3 separate regions of the Homo sapiens genome follow, and regions 2 and 3 are each linked to region 1. Evidence: promoter capture Hi-C in 16 types of primary human blood cells and fetal thymus (Javierre and others, 2016). All regions are on one chromosome and are shown on one strand. The core of a region is centred on a gene start or on the middle of the fragment in contact, and the rest is flanking DNA. Distances in the headings are between cores, read along the strand shown.

Region 1 (3,380 bases), core at 404-2,903:
AGAAAAGCATTAACCAGACTATACTCAGAGAGCTGAGCTCCACCTTAAAATTCCTTTCCCTGCCAAGCAGGTACTTGGGCACTATATTGCTATTTGGTTCCATATTAGAAGATGATGATTCTCATTAAAGAATACAGTTTCTGGGCTGGGCACAGTGGCTTATACCCGTAATCCCAGCAGTTTGGGAGGCCAAGGTGGGTGTATCACCTGAGGTCAGGAGTTCGAGAAACACCGTGGCCAACATGGTGAAACCCCATCTCTACTAAAATACAAAAAGTAGCTGGACATGGTGGCTGTAGACCCAGCTACTCGAGAGGCTGAGGCAGGAGAATCGCTTGAACCTGGGAGGCGGAGGTTGCGGTGAGCCGACATCACACCTCTGCACTCCGGCCTGGGTGACAAAAGCAAAACTCCGTCTCAAAAAAAAAAAAAAAAAAGAATACAGTTTCTAAGAACTAAAAATATGCTTTAGCCTGTGAGAGCTAACACAAATTTGGAAAATATAGATAAAGTACCTTTTGAGAATTTCAAATATCTCCTGTCTACCCTGTCTTCTACCCAATTTGAGGAGCCAATCACTATCGAGCTCTCTTTTACCAAATAAGCTCTCAGGAGATCATGTGTCCAATAGAAAAATGACATTTTAAGCGTATTGTCTGCAAAGTGGAAAAGATTGTTGCATTTTAAGGGAATGTAGAAGATGAGTAACTACTTGGGAGGTGGTTCCTAGGCAGAAGGCATTGATTCTGGAAACCACAGCCCAGGCTGCAATTGCACTTCTCTGAAAAATGATGTTTTTCCAACCTTGACTTCCTTATAACACTTTCCCCAAAGTCTGGGTGAAACATGTGATCATTATTAACTATCGGCATCCCTTCTCAGAGGCCATTTCCCTAATTACTGCTATTACAAATGATCTTCATTTGTTAGAGCTTATTGACAATGCCATCATAAAAGGACATCAGTTTAGAACTGTTGCTGTAATCAATCAGGCACCAAAACTAAAACAGTCCCCCGCAGAGCTACTGTGGTCACAGCATAGGATGTATGGTCGTTTGAAAAAGTTATCTCTTTACCAGCTATCTGTCCTCATTTGCCATGAGGAGTATTCCTGGCCCTACTGAACCTCTAGCCTGATTCATAGCTCTGAGTATCGGTGTCCTCAGATAGGCCTAATCACAGCTCCCTACAGACCTGCAAGAGTCTAATGAGATGCAAGCATGTGAGAGCACTTCTAAAGATGTCAAATGCCCACATCAGGCACAGGGTTCCTCATCTGTGGAACCCTGTCCTGGTGATAAAGGCCTACACAAGATAGAAGAGTAGGATGCAAGCAGCTTTAATGCACTGTGCTTAGGAGGACTGGCGGTGAAGGAAGGGAGGGGCAGGGAAAAGCCTGTATCAGTGGGACTGAGGCTAACCAGAATTCAGACCTTTGTTTTCCATGATTTGGATCCTTCTCCATTGTTTGCTATCTAAAAGTTCAATCAGCCTCCTTCCAGTGTTCCTGGCTGTCCCCCGAGCAACCTCAGCAGAGCCCTTCTTACCCTACTTGGACTCTGAGTTCAGGTCACTGATTGTAGTGGGGATCAGCATGTGGATCTGAAGAGCAGAGTCTGCGTCCTCCTCCTTTTCTCAGAGCCCTGGAAATCTACAGCAGTGGAGAAAGGAATAGTAGGGGGAGCTGCAGGGCTCCAGCTGATTGGTAGCCGAGGTGGTGATGGGGAACAGCCTTATTATGTGAACTTGTCCCTGTATCGTTTCATCTGGAACACTTGGGCTCACTCAAACAGTAGCCTCGAGCAAAGGCTACAAACATCAAAGGCTGAGCCCTGGGTACAAAATGATTGCAAGACCCTAGGTGACCCCAGAAAAGGGTTATCTGGTGCTATCAGGAGACAACCAGAGACTTAGCTCTGCTCTCAATTCTAACAAACTTCTGGGGAAGTCCCTGGAGGGTTATGCTATGTTACATGGGAACTTCACTGAGGAAAGCCACCTTTTTTTTTTTTTTGAGATGGAGTCTCGCTCTGTTGCCCAGGCTGGAGTGCAGTGGCGAGATCTCGGCTCACTGCAAGCTCCGCCTCCCGGGTTCACCCCATTCTCTTGCCTCAACCTCCTGAGTAGCTGGGACTATAGGCGCCTGTCACCACGCCCAGCTAATTTTTTGTATTTTTAGTAGAGACGGGGTTTCACCGTGTTAGCCAGGATGGTCTCGATCTCCTGACCTCATGATCTGCCTGCCTCAGCCTCCCAAAGTGCTGGGATTACAGGTGTGACTCGCTGTGCCTGGTCTTTTGCCTTTTTTTTTTTTTTGACAGGGTCTTGCTCTGTCGCCCAGGCTGGAGTGCAGTCGCACAAACACTGCTCCCTGCAGTCTCAACCTGCCAGGCTCAAGCAATCCTCCCACCTCAGCCTCTTGAGTAGCTGGGACTATAGGCATGCAACACCATGCCTGGCTAGTTTTTTGTATTAATTTTTGTAGAGACAGGGTTTCACCATGTTGGCCAGGTTGGTCTTGAACTCCTGAGCCTAGCTAAGCCTCAACACATCAGCCTCTAAAAGTGCTGGGATTACAGGCATGAGCCACTTGGTCAGGCCAGAAAATCACTTTTAATGTTGTGAATTGTGAGACCTTCATTGAGAGGTGAAAGAATATCTAGTGAACACAGTGGCCAAATAGCTATGAATGATTAGGTAGCCAGTATCTGAAATTTCTCTACTCAGTTTTTTAATTATAACCTTTAGCTGTTTGGTGACACTGTACTGCTTACTATTAAAATGTCACATAGCCTGGCCATAGTTTCTACAATGCTACTATACGTAACATCTGACTGTGAAGTATAGGTCACAAGGTGCTGGCTAAGTTGTTTTTCAGGACCTCAAGATTCAGTCCTGAACTCAGCTCAAACTGACAAGACCACAACTTCTTCAACTGAGTTTGTGCAAGTGTTCAATGGTTACCTTTAACATCACAGCCGGAATTTTCCACCATATTTTCCATGCCAACTCCCCACAAATTGGCAAATGTGACCAATACTGGTTCATCAACACTAGTCAAAGTTACGATTTATGAATAAAGTAAGACTCTTGCAAATCTTTTCTAACAACACTTCCAAAGGCTGCTCCTAGCCAAACCACCTTAGTTGATTTTCTCACTGGGCCACCTTATTGTTGGAATGACAGAAGGTTCAGTTTATATCCAGAACTTATCTTCAAACCCCCACTCCTGTGAAGCAGTCCTTGAGTAATAGAAAATCATGTGCTGATAGACTGGATGGACGGGAGATAGTCTTAGAGCAGGTTCTGTGCATCCTTCTACTCTCTAGGTCTTTGGGGGACAGGGGAGAGCAAAACAGGAACAATTCTGGGCCTCTGAA
Region 2 (3,645 bases), core at 632-3,131, 100 kb before region 1:
CACCCATGTGGAGAGATGATTAATTGTACACAGTGCCCCAAGTCTCTCAGAAACACCACTTTGAACTTCTCCCTGTCTGCTGCACCTTCCCCCAGTGTGACTCTCAGTGTGTCTGCAGTGACTCATAACCTTTGGAAGATGCCTTAAAGCAGGCTCTGCCCGCCTGGTATTCCTTGACATGTCCCCCTCCTTCTGTGCTGCTCTCCAGTTCTATATAAAGATAGAATGAGGGAACTGTCAGTCTATCTTTCCTGCCCAGTCAAAAACTTCAATCATTGTCACTCCTACTAATTCAGAATGTAAACTTAACTGTTTCTTTTTTGAGACAGTTTTGCTCTGTCACCCAGGCTGGAGTGCAGTGACTCAATCTCGGCTCATCGCAGCCTCTGCCTCCCAGGTTCAAGCGATTCTTCTGCCTCAGCCTCCCGAGTAGCTGGGATTACAGGCGCATGCCACTATACCCGGTTAATTGTCATATTTTTAGTAGAGACAAGGTTTCACCATGTTGGCTAGGCTGGTCTCGAACTCCTGACCTCAGGTGATCCACTTGCCTTGGCCTCCCAAAGTGCTGGGATTACAGGCATGAGCCGCCGTGCCAGCCAAACTTACCTGTTAATTGTGACCTTTTCAGAAGCTATATTAAACTGGTAATAATAACAATATAATGATATCTATGGAGAGCTTACTATGTGCTCTGAATAGGGTGCCCATCTAATTTACTGTCTGAACTGTGATACTTTTGAGAGTGAGAAGGAATACTACTAGTAATTAAGCCAGGACAGCAGCATACATAGAGCAGATCCTGGGCAAACTGGGACATATGGTTTCATAGCTGGGAACTTAAATCAATAATTATTTCATTATTCAGGCAAATAAGGCTGCAACTCTGATCACTGAGCTGGCTGAACTGTTCTAGATGCTTTACCTGGGTTATTTTATTTAGTTCACACAATAACCCTTTGAATAAGGTGCTTTAATTTACAGATAAAGAAACAAATTACAGAAGATCAAAAATCACTTATCTTTAAAATACTAAATCAGGACTTTTGTCTGTAAATCTGTACTCATCCAGAAAAATATCAGTCAGTATTACAGGAAAGATTAAAAAGGTGAACCGACTCTACACCCCTCTTTAAATCCACCCCCAATATACATATACATTTCAGTTATTCTTTATTATTGTTTTGTGAGTTATCCAGCTTGTCTGTTTTACAGATCACGGAGCTGGGGCCAGGTACGGTGGCTCATGCCTTTAATCCCAGAACTTTGGGAGGCCGAGGCGGGCGGATTGCCTGAGCTCAGGAGTTTGAGACCAGCTTGGGCGACACGGTGAAACCCTGTCTCTACTAAAAATACAAAAAAATTAGCCGGGCGTGGCAACGTATGCCTGTAGCCCCAGCTACTCGGGAGGCTGAGGCAGGAGAATTACTTGAAGCCTGGAGGTGGAGGTTGCAGTGAGCCGAGATCACACCACTGGACTGAAGCCTGGGCGACAGAGCGAGACTCCGTCTCAAAAAGAAAAACAAGAAATTACAGTTGTGATATACGTTGAATTACTTAAGAAATATTCTGGCCGGGCACGGTGGCTCACGCCTGTAATCCCAGCACTTTGGGAGGCCGAGGCGGGTGGATCACGAGGTCAGGAGATCGAGACCATCCTGGCTAACACGGTGAAACCCCGTCTCTACTAAAAATACAAAAAAAAATTAGCCGGGTGTGGTGGCGGGCGCCTGTAGTCCCAGCTACTGGGGAGGCTGAGGCAGGAGAATGGCGTGAACCTGGGAGGCGGAGCTTGCAGTGAGCCCAGATCGCGCCACTGCACTCCAGCCTGGGCGACAGAGCGAGACTCCGTCTCAAAAAAAAAAAAAAAAAAAAAGAAATATTCTGAGAGATGAATGTCATATTTTAATATGTGTAATGAATCTGAATACAGTAGCTGTGATTTAATGCACAGGAAGTGAGCCCTCTCAGTGACAGGTCACAGGTCATTCCGTACCAGTTATCTTTCCCCATGATCCAGACAACACAGGTGATGCACACATTCTCCGAACCCTGTTTCAGAACAAGTCTGAGGCAAAGGGGGATAGTGACTTAAGTTCCAGTTGTAGAAGTAGGTTCCATTGCTGAAAGGACCTTCCTCTTCTGTTCATATTCTTGGTCAACTTCCTTGTTTCTTGGCTGCGTCCGTTTCCATTTTGGTACCTACTTCCCTTCCTTTCTACCATTCTTTTTTTTTCTTTCTTTTTGAAGAGACAGAGTCTCACTCTGTCGCCCAGGCTCAAATGCGGGGGCATGATCTCAGCTCACTGCAACCTTCACCTCCCGGGTTCACTCAATTCTCTTGCCTTGCCTCCTGAGTAGCTGGGATTACAGATGCCTGCCACCACACCGGGCTACTTTTTGTATTTTTAGTAGAGATGAGGTTTCACCGTGTTGGCCAGGCTGGTCTCAAACTCCTGACCTCAGGCGATCCATCCACCTTGGCTTCCCAAAATGCTGGGATTATAGGCGTGAGCCACTGTGCCTGGCCTCCAACATTCTTATAGGTAGGACATTCTCCTGTACCTTTGCCTGTGAGCTGGATCCCATCTTTGCCCAGTTCCTGAGACTGTGCTGTATCTGTGCCCTGTATTTCCAGTGTCTTCTGTACTGACTCCTTAGGATATGGACAATCTCATGTCACCTTCTACGCAGCCTTCCGAAACTACTTACCAGTTGGCTCCTTCTCTTCATTGCCAAGCTCCTTGTTGACTCTGTTCCTTTAGCTCTAATATTCTCTTCAGCTGGAAAAAGGACGCTCTGAAACTACTGTAGCAAAGAATCCATGACCTCCTGATTTTCACATCTAATCATCTAATAAAATCTTTACTTCTTAAGCATTTTTTAAAAATTATAAGGTACATTATATAACACACACACACACAGTCACGCACACGTACCAGAGTGCCAAAATCATACATGTAGGCAAAGTTTAAAGAATATCTATGAGGCAGACACCCTTTTGACTTCTGCCAAGGTCAGAAACAGAACAATGGCAGTATTTCTGAAGCTCTCAACCATGTGCTCTTTCCTGACCACGGCACTTTCTTTCCCTCCAGAAAAAAAAAAAATTATGCTTGAGATAACAATTTCCTTTCTTCTTTTTATAATTATATCACTTATGTATCCGTCTCTAACCATTACAGTTTAATTTCACCTGTTCTTGAATGCTATATAAATAGAATCTCATTGTATATATATTTTTTGTGACTGAACTACCTTATGTTTATTCAATCCATTTATGTTGCTACAAGGGATATATTTTGTTCAATTTTATTGCCCTAAAGGATTCTAAAGCATGACTATGCTGCAATTTTTATCATTTCTATCTTTTCATTCTCCAGAGTTCTGAATTCTTACATTTTTGAAGTATTTCTTGTAAACATCATAGAGTTAGATTTTCCTCCATCAGTGTTGTGTTTTAACTGGACCATTTATATTTATTGCAATTATTCATCTCCATCTTCCTCAGTGTACATCTATCATCTATTTAGTCTTTTCTATTTGTCTCGTTTGTTTGGTATTTCTTTTTCGTCTCCTGTTTTCCCTTCTTTTGGATTAGTTGTGTATTTCTATATCACTCCATAAAAGCCATTAAGGCTAATC
Region 3 (3,373 bases), core at 61-2,560, 120 kb before region 1:
ATTCTTCCTATTGGGAACACAGTACCCTTTACAGGCCTCTGATTTAATAAATACACTGCATCCTGAAGAATGATACCCCATACTTTCATAATGTTACCTCTTAGCTGCTGCTTCAGCTGTGTCTTTGGAAAGTCAGTTTCTCTTCTTTCCTCCCTCCCTCCTTTCTTTCTTCTACCCTCCTTTCTTCTTTTCTCTCTTTTCCGTTCCTTCCTTTCCTCATTTCTCTTTCTCTTTCTTCCTCCCTCCCTCCCTTCCTTTCTTTCCTTGAGCTGAAATGGCTTGCACCTTCCTTTTCCCACATAAACACCAATGGACTCTTCCCATTAGTCCTCTAGTTTCTTCCAGAGGTAGGTGAAATTATTGAAGAGACTTCAGCAGAAATTAGGGAAGATCTTCTGAACTGTGATTAAATGGAGTGTGGTCGTTTACCTAATTATCCTTGGTTATCACCTTCTGTGATTGTGATTTTACTTATTAAGCAGCAGAGCCATCTGGCGAAGACCTGCATTACTTTTTAATCTTATGCTTGCCTTTTGTCTTTCCCAGATTTGATAAATGGTTGGTCCTTATGATCCACTGATGCAGACTACTTGGGAGGTCCCAATGTCCTGGTGCCCAAAGGCAAGATCATTTTTCCCCCTGCAGTGTTTCTGTCTATCATGATGATGTGAGTGGGCTCTTATTGGGGGTGCCTAATGCTGCCATAAAGAAAGAGTTTTCTTGGCTTGGTGCAGTGGCTCACGCCTGTAATCCCAACACTTTGGGAGGCTGAGGCAGGCGGATCACGAGGTCAAGAGATCAAGACCAACCTGGCCAACATGGTGAAATCCTGTCTCTACTAAAAATATAAAAATTAGCTGGGCGTGGTGGCGTGCACCTGTTGTCCCAGCTACTCGGGAGGCTGAGACAGGAGAATTGCTTGAACCCGGGAAGTGGAGGTTGCAGTGAGCCGAGACTGCGCCACTGCACTCCAGCCTGGCGACAGAGCAAGACTCCATCTCAAAGAAAAAAAAAAGAAAAGGTTTTATCTTCTGAATTAAGCTGTATCCCTCTGAGCTAGTCAGGGAAATAGGCAATCTTTTTTTCTATGGCTCATAGATACTGGTATCACTGGTTATCACTTGTGATAAGTAAGCAACATCCTTCCTTCATAGATTTATAGCTCAGTGTTTGGCATATGCCCTATAATTATTATCACAAGCAAGGTGTGCAGAGGCAAAGTTTTCTAGGATACAAGCACCTGTCTGTTTTGTTCACCTCTCCCTATATGGCACTTAGCATAGTGCTTGTCATATCAAAGGCACTCAGAAATGTTAATTAAGTAAATATTAGTGATGGAAGAATGTCTTTCTATTGTCTTCACATATGAATAAAAAGGGGGCCAGGGGCAGTGGTTCATGCCTGTAATCCCAGCACTTTGAGAGGGTGAGGTGAGTGGATCACTTAAGTCCAGGAATTTGGGACCAGTCTGGGCAACATGGTGAAACCCCATCTCTACAAAAAATACAAAAATTAGCCGGGCGTAGTGGCACACGCCTGTAGTCCCGACTACTCAGGAGGGTGAGGTGGGAGGATCGCTTGAGCCTAGGAGGTGGAGGTCACAGTGAGCCGAGGTTGGGCTGCTGCACTCCAGCCTGGGAGACAGAGCCAGACCCTGTCTCAAAAAAAAAAAAAGTTAACTAGATAAAACATCCTTTGTTTCTGGATGTCCAAAGAGTTGTTTTTATTGTTTCACTGAAATGTCATGGATTAATATAGTCTGTATTCCTGTATTAGTAGCCTGCTATTACTACACAAAAACATTCGAATGCCTTCTCTTTTGCTGTATTTTAGACATTTTTCAAAAGCCTAGGTTTCTGTGTTGCTTTTGCTTATGCTGAGACTCGGTGATCTCCACCTGTTTCTAAAACCAGCTCCCTATCTCCTGCTGAAGAATGTTCCTTTTGTTCTTTGACTTTTGATTCTGTGTCTTGTGTTTTAAGGTTCAGTTTAGGAATCTCAGTATACTTTAGGTTGATTCCCTGGAATTCAAGTGAGATGCATTTTTTTCTTTTTTTGAGAAATTAATTAACAATTTATGCTAATGTGTGGATGTTTAAGTTCCTGGCATTTGACTGAGCTTTGTAATGTGTACTTTCTACACTGTGGAAAGAAGGAGTTCTAAAAATATATATATAGCCAGGTGCAGTGGCTCACGCCTCTAATCCCAGCACTTTGGGAGGCCGAGGCGGGTGGATCATTTGAGGTCAAGGGTTTGAGACCAGCCTGGCCAACATGGTGAAACCCCGTCTGTACTAAAAATACAAAAATAAGCCAGGCATGGTGGCAGGTGCCTGTAATCCCAGCTACTCGGGAGGCTGAGGCAGGAGAATCGCTTGAACCCAGGAGGTGGATGTTGCAGTGACCTGAGACTGTGCCATTGCACTCCAGCCTGGGCAACAAGAGTAAAACTCCATCTCAAAAAGAAAAAATATATATATTCTCAGAAAGAAAATATATCTATCTATCTATATAGATAGATAGATAGATTTCAAAATATGAATTTTTTTTTCCTATCAAGATAGAAGATCCTGTTAATAAATTTGGAGAACAATTAGATATTCAACAAGTAGACATTGTGCATTTCTACTTAATGGACATCTGTATTGCCAGAATGCCATTGAACATGATCCTGCTTTTAAAGTAGTGGTTGTCCAAGAAAGGAGTACGAGGCTGAGAAGATTCTCTTAGAGTGACAGAATTGCTAGATTGAACAAGTTGATTCAGAATAGGTTGCTATACGTCTCTCTTACGGCTTTCAAGGATTCAGCAGGCCATTCTGGACAAGATCTACAAGAAAACATAGGTGTTTCATTTTGAGTGATAACCAAAGGTTAAACCCAAAACCCTTAGGTTCAGGATTTCAAAGTATAGGCCATACTAAGAGAAAATATTTATGACACATATACACTTGATTAATGCAGCATTTACATTTGTTTCTGTCAATAAGCTAGCAGGGAGCAAGCTAATGTGTAGGGTAATAGTGACAGACATACACCAACTTAAGAGGAACAATCAGTGTCTTACTGTCAGGCTGCCACTGATGCCCAGCTAGTGCATCATTGATCCTCACCTACAAGATTTTCTTCCTCATTTCTGCATAAGGAGGCTAAAGTTACCTCAAAAGCTGGTGGTCGTGGTCTGCAGAAAACTCAGCTTAGCATTCCCCTTTAGAGATATGGGGATACTGATGCTCAATGTTCAATGACAGCACAGCTGCCTGGACTTTATGATAAAACTCTCACTAGAGATTGAAGTTTATAGGAGCCTTAGCCTAGATTCTCATTAGTTCTTCCACAGACTTTCTCTCAAAAACAAGCAACATGTTTATATT

The links. Contacts are between HindIII fragments. The CHiCAGO score rates a contact against its expected background, and 5 or more counts as called.
Region 2: a fragment that was not itself captured here is called in contact with the fragment with the promoter of EDDM3A in region 1 in 4 of 17 cell types (M0 macrophages, M1 macrophages, M2 macrophages and 1 more); the score reaches 5.9 in M0 macrophages.
Region 3: a contact is called between a fragment that was not itself captured here and the fragment with the promoter of EDDM3A in region 1, in 13 of 17 cell types (M2 macrophages, naive B cells, M0 macrophages and 10 more). The highest score is 15.9, in M2 macrophages.

The regions. Positions count from the first base shown.
Region 1 is chr14:20,744,160-20,747,539 of GRCh38, reverse strand. It overlaps EDDM3A (epididymal protein 3A), which reads right to left and starts at 1,653. Exons shown (of 2, transcript NM_006683.5): 1 at 1,548-1,653. The region is part of intron 2 of LOC107984671 (a long non-coding RNA gene); the gene reads left to right. The HindIII fragment of the contact is 4,056 bases long and covers 1-3,380 here.
Region 2 is chr14:20,845,225-20,848,869 of GRCh38, reverse strand. No RefSeq gene overlaps it. Among named protein-coding and RNA genes, the nearest start is that of RNASE1, 44 kb to the right of the region's middle. The HindIII fragment of the contact is 8,402 bases long and covers 1-3,645 here.
Region 3 is chr14:20,867,630-20,871,002 of GRCh38, reverse strand. It overlaps LOC100507513 (a long non-coding RNA gene), which reads left to right. Exons shown (of 4, transcript XR_110261.4): 4 at 547-768. Among named protein-coding and RNA genes, the nearest start is that of RNASE3, 22 kb to the left of the region's middle. The HindIII fragment of the contact is 5,154 bases long and covers 1-3,373 here.